Regions from separate parts of the Homo sapiens genome. Here region 1 is linked to region 2. Evidence: promoter capture Hi-C in human tissues and cell types (Jung and others, 2019). All regions are on one chromosome and are shown on one strand. The core of a region is centred on a gene start or on the middle of the fragment in contact, and the rest is flanking DNA. Distances in the headings are between cores, read along the strand shown. Region 1 overlaps BTLA (B and T lymphocyte associated). Region 2 holds the start of TAGLN3 (transgelin 3).

Evidence for each region. Contacts are between HindIII fragments. The study calls those that stand out against the background at their distance.
Region 1: a contact is called between a fragment that was not itself captured here and the fragment with the promoter of TAGLN3 in region 2, in 1 of the 25 tissues and cell types used here (aorta).

The regions. Positions count from the first base shown.
Region 1 is chr3:112,492,009-112,494,766 of GRCh38, forward strand. The region is part of intron 1 of BTLA (B and T lymphocyte associated); the gene reads right to left. Among named protein-coding and RNA genes, the nearest start is that of BTLA, 6.1 kb to the right of the region's middle. RefSeq lists a silencer at 116-165. The HindIII fragment of the contact is 3,782 bases long and covers 1-2,758 here.
Region 2 is chr3:111,997,256-112,000,171 of GRCh38, forward strand. It overlaps TAGLN3 (transgelin 3), which reads left to right and starts at 1,667. Exons shown (of 5, transcript NM_001008272.2): 1 at 1,667-1,859; 2 at 2,166-2,347. The coding sequence starts at 2,168. The HindIII fragment of the contact is 6,637 bases long and covers 1-2,916 here.

The DNA of each region.
Region 1 (2,758 bases), core at 215-2,714, 490 kb after region 2:
AATATTGAAAAAAACTTTGTCCTTTGATAATTTTCTAAGCTTGCTTTCAGGACTTCTTCATTACATCTCTGCCAAGTCACAAATGTCCCCTTGCAGATCTACCCTACTGGTCACTGACTTTGCTTCTCTAGGCCAGAGGATTCATATGCATTGCACTCCTTAGAGCCCTGTCTACTCTGTGTAACAAGGATGAGTTTCTGGTGGTTTTAGTTGGTCAACATGTAATTATCGCCCTTGAATAGTAAAAGCTTCTAGTCAACTTAATGAGTCCTAAAGAACAATGATTTAGAGAGACTTTGATTGCCTGTTACACATAGGCCCTGTCCTTCAGAGAGGCTAAATTTTCCACCTTTGTCACAGGGATTTCAGGAAGAAACATAGGGCAGCAAATGTAGACAGCATACCTGAGAAGCTGTTGACAGTAGCATCAGTGAGTGCCTCTGGCATTTGATCAGAAACCAACATGAGTATTTCTAAATATTGACTTCAGTGGAAGGATTGTTACTTGTGATGTTCAGATTAAGTGTGGCTTATGTATTATGATTGGAAAGGGAAAGTCCATCTCTACTTTCTTCCCAGATACTTCCTCACATCTCTAATACATTCTACCACAGACATCACACTGAGATTCACTGGCATTTTCAAAGCCCTTGAAGATACTAAACAATACTTATGTGGACAGAATCTGCTAAATGTCTTCCAATATTAATTCTCATCTTCTAATATTATAGAGGAAAATGAAGTGGGGCCATAACCCCCCAGATAAAAATCTCAATGCCCCAGCCTCCCTTGTAGCCAAATACTGGATAATAGGCCATTTGTGATGTGTGTGAGTTCCAGGTTGTGCTTATAAGATGAACATGGTTATCAAGAAGGCAGAAAAAAGAAATTAAAGAGCTCTGCCAGCTAAACTTGATGTTTTCCTGGGACTGATCTAACACTCTTCTGGACTCTGTTCTAAGTGAATCTCAAATTGTATGACACCTCTGCATGCATACACACAGACACATGCTGCACACAAGCCACTTCTTCCATTGAGATAAACATGTAAATCAGGTCCATAACCATGAGAGTATACCAGAAAGGTACAAAATATTGAGCTTATTTTGAGGTAAGAGAATGGAGAGTATTAGAAAAGTGAAGCAAATCGCATATGATACAATTCACTGACACAATACAACTCAAGCGCATGATTCTCAAGCACTATTAGCTTTTCTTGGTGACCAAGGATAAGAGTAGATAATGCTTTTGGCATTTTTCTCACAAAGTCTTCATGACATAAATGCCAAAAGCAATTGCAACAAACTGAAGAACTTCTGCACAGCAAAAGAAACTCTCATCAGAGCAAAAAGGCAACCTACAGAATGGGAGAAAATTTTTGCAATCTACCCATCTGAAAAAGGCCTAATATCCAGAATTTACAAGAAACTTAAATAAGTTTACAAGAAAAAAACAAACAACCGCATCAAAAAGTGGGCAAAGGATATGAACACACAGTTCTCTCTGTTTTTTTTTGGAGACAGAGTCTCACTCTGTTACCCAGCTGGAGTGCAGTGGTGCAACCTGGCTCACTGCAACTTCAGTCTCCTGGGTTCAAGCAATTCTGCCTCAGCCTCCCAAGTAGCTGGTCTTACAGGCGTGTCCCACCACGCCCAGCTAATTTTTGTATTTTTAGTACAGACAGGGTTTCACTATGCTGGCCAGACTGCTCTTGAACTCCTGACCTCAAATGACCCGCCCTCCTCAGCTTCCTGAAGTGCTGGGATTACAGGCGAGAGCCACTACACCCAGCCTAAACAGACACTTCTCAAAAGAAGACACTGGCTGGGCGCGGTGGCTCACGCCTGTAATCCCAGCACTTTGGGAGGCCGAGACAGGTGGATCATGAGGTCAGGAGATCAAGACCATCCTGACTAACACGGTGAAACCTTCTGTACTAAAAATACAAAAAATTAGCCAGGCGTGGTGGCAGCCGCCTGTAGTCCCAGCTACTCGGGAGGCTGAGTTAGGAGAATGGCATGAGCCCGGGAGGCAGAGCTTGCAGTGAGCGGAGATTGCGCCACTGCACTCCAGCCTGGGCGACAGAGCGACACTCTATCTCAAAAAAAAAAAGAAGACATTTATGCCACCAACAAACATAAGAATAAAAGCTCAACATCACTGATGGTCAGAGAAATGTAAATCAAAACCACAAGGAGATAACATCTCACGCCAGTCAGAATGGTGATTATTAAAAAGTCAGGAAACAATAGGTGCTGGCAAGTCTGTGGAGAATTAGGAATGCTTTTACACGGTTGGTGGGAGTGTAAATTAGTTCAACCATTGTGGAAGACAGTATGGCAATTCCTCGATCTAGAACCAGAAATACCATTTGACCCAGCAATCCCGTTACTGGGTATATACTCAAAGGAATATAAATCATTCTACTATAAAGACACATGCACACGTATGTTTATTGCAGCACTATTTACAATAGCAAAGACACGGAACCAACCCAAATGCCCATCAATGATAGACTGGAAAAAGAAAATATGGTACATATACACCGTGGAATACTATGCAGCCATAAAAAAGAATGAGATCATGCCCTTTGCAGGGACATGGATGAAGCTGGAAGCCATCATCCTAAGCAAACTAACACAGGAACAGAAAACCAAACACTGCATGTTCTCACTCATAAGTGGAAGTTGAAAATGAGAATATATGGACACAGAGAGGGGAATAACACAAACCAGAGCCTGTTGGGGAGTAGGGGGAG
Region 2 (2,916 bases), core at 417-2,916:
CTAGCCTTATGGCTCCTCCCCAAGATACCAATGATGACTTCCATAATTCTTCTGTCAATTTCCCTGCTCTAAGCTCTTCCCCTAAGCTCCAAGTGTCCCAACACAGTGCTGCTGTCTTTTGAGCTTCTTCAACTGATGATTCCATGCAGCATCAAGACCTGCCTTAGTCAGCCCTTCCCTTGTCTCTTCCTAAACCTACTGCTCTCCTGAATCTCCTAGTTTTCTGTTTTCAGAGGACTGTCTGCCAGGCCTTCAACGACTGACCGCTAAGTCTTTTTCAGGCAAACCACCCACATATCTCCTAAGTAATTAAATTTTCATTAGTCCAGGCATCAGCCGGTAGGAGATTTTTCTCAATACATGTATTATTTGAGGAGTCATTTCCTGCATAGCTTCTAATCAATTTCCCACAGGGACAAAGATCATCATCCCATGTACCCAGAATTGCTTTATTTAATATGCTTGAGTCAATTTATCAATCTGTTTTCAATGCAAGAATTGTATTTTATTCCTCCTCAGTCCAGTAGTTGGCATAAACACTCAGTAAATATCTGTTGAATGAAGAAATGAACCAAACGAAAAAAAATGTGGAATTTTTCTCATGAAAAACACCCAGAGAATTACACAACACCAATGAGACTCAATCTTTACCCACAAATGGCTTACAGTCTAGGAGGACAAACTGCCAAGCCCTTTAGCTGTTATAAAAATGTGGGGCCAACTTAGAGCTAATGGTTTCTCCTGAGTGCTTGTTTGCCCATGAGAAATATTCAGTTACTTCTGACAATATGTCGGTTGTGCCTTCACGGTCCTTACTTCAGATGAAGTCTTTACATTCTATCAAAACCTTTCACTCTAAGAGTTCTTAGTCGTTGAGTTTTGTTTAATTTATAAAACTTGCCGGGCGTGGTGGCTCATGCCTGTAATCCCAGAACTTTGGGAGGCCGAGGCAGTCAGATCACCTGAGGTCAGGAGTTCAAGACCAGCCTGACCAACGTGGCAAAACCCCATCTCCACTAAAAATACAAAAATTAGCCAGGCCTGGTGGCACACACCTGTAATCCTAGCTACCTGGGAGGCTGAGGCAGGAGAATCGCTTGAACCCAGGAGGCAGAGGTTGCAGCCAGCCGAGATTGTGCCACTGCACTCCAGCCTGGGCAACAGAGCGAGACTCTGTCTAAAAATATATAGTAAGAATTATAATAATAATTTATAAAACTTGTTCTTAGTGTCTTTCAGTTAAGAGTAGCATGAAAAAAATACCTCCCTTGAATAAGTCAAACTGAGGCACAACAGTTTCAGGATGGAAGTTTCTGGGTGAAGTTGGGCTGGCAGCTGAACAAGTAAATGATAGCAGCTCTCAGTCCCTCCCCTCCTGTCCTGCCAGACAGTTGTTACCTCAGGGCAGGGGGAAAGTAGCTTGGCTATTCCCGACAGATGGACAGTTGGTAGAACGGACCCTCCCACAGGCCCTCATCCCCTTGTGCAGCTGCTGGCCTCGTAGACAATCGGCTGTCTCCCCAGAAGAGGGAAAGAATTGTGCAGATGAGAAAGAGGCTCTCAGCGGGAGGGAGGCAGGCGGGCTTGATTGACACAGGAGAGGGCTGGCTTTTTGGAGGGCTCTTAGCAACGGCCCTGGTTGAGCCCCCTCAGCCATGAGAAAATCAAATCAATGTGCCATTCTTCCAGGCGCGAGGCAGCAGCGGCTGCAGTTCAACATGAAAGGAGGCTTCCTCCCTGCCTGCTAATTACCTGCTCTTCCCGATCTCATCGTTTCTGCCTTTGCAAAGTGCTACTGAGAAGGGGGAAGAAACGTCCGCCACCCATCCCCCTTGCTGCCTGGGGGTTCAGACTTGATTGTGAGTCCGTGTTATATCATCTGGTCTCATTGATAGGCGGGATAGGGAGGGGGATTCCAGCCCCCCTGGACCGGCCGGAGGTTTATTCTAGAGTTACTGGCGGGTAGCTGTGCTTTTCTTTCCCGTTTGTAGGTGAAACCCCATTGGCTTCATTGGCTCCTTGATTTAAACCACGCCCGGCTTTCTGCCCTCTTTGCTGCTGCTGGGCCAGGTTGCCCAGCCATATCCCAGCCCCGTCTGCAGGGAGCCGGAGGCTGCTGCTGCTGCTATTGTGTGGATGCCGCGCGTGTCTTCTCTTCTTTCCAGAGATGGCTAACAGGGGCCCGAGCTATGGCTTAAGCCGAGAGGTGCAGGAGAAGATCGAGCAGAAGTATGATGCGGACCTGGAGAACAAGCTGGTGGACTGGATCATCCTGCAGTGCGCCGAGGACATAGAGCACCCGCCCCCCGGCAGGGCCCATTTTCAGAAATGGTTAATGGACGGGACGGTAAGGCCGGCAGCGATCTCGGTTGCTGGGGCGGTGGGCAGGGAAACCCTCCAGGGCCCTTTCTTTTAACGTAAGGCTGCGGGAAGAGCTGCTGTTGCCAAGCTCTATGTCTCACCGGGAGGGGATGAGAATGCCTTTATTTCTTCAGGGTTGGAAGATTTGGGCTCCATGCACTATTCCCTAGCTAGCTTGGGGGTTCTCCACTCACCCTAGCATTACATCTCCCTTCTGAGTTGGCAAATTCGAAGCCCTTTTGATTTTTCTAATGAGAATAGAGATAAGTATGTCCTTGTAATTTCCCCAGCCTTCCTGGTGCATCAGCTCTTCTGGGGCCATTTCTTTCCCTAGGGGATCGTGTTGGTTACACAGTAAAACAAAGAAGGGAGGAGGGGGACTAGCCACCTTCACATTCTTGTGGGAGCCATGCACCCTGGAAGTGTTCAGTGTCTGTTTATTGAGTGGATGCGTTCTCATGAAACTGAAAGGAGTCCTTATTTGTTAACTGCATTTCTGACCAAATGCTCGTGTGTGTTTGAGGGTTTGAGGGCCGCAGGCTCTGTGATTCAAAC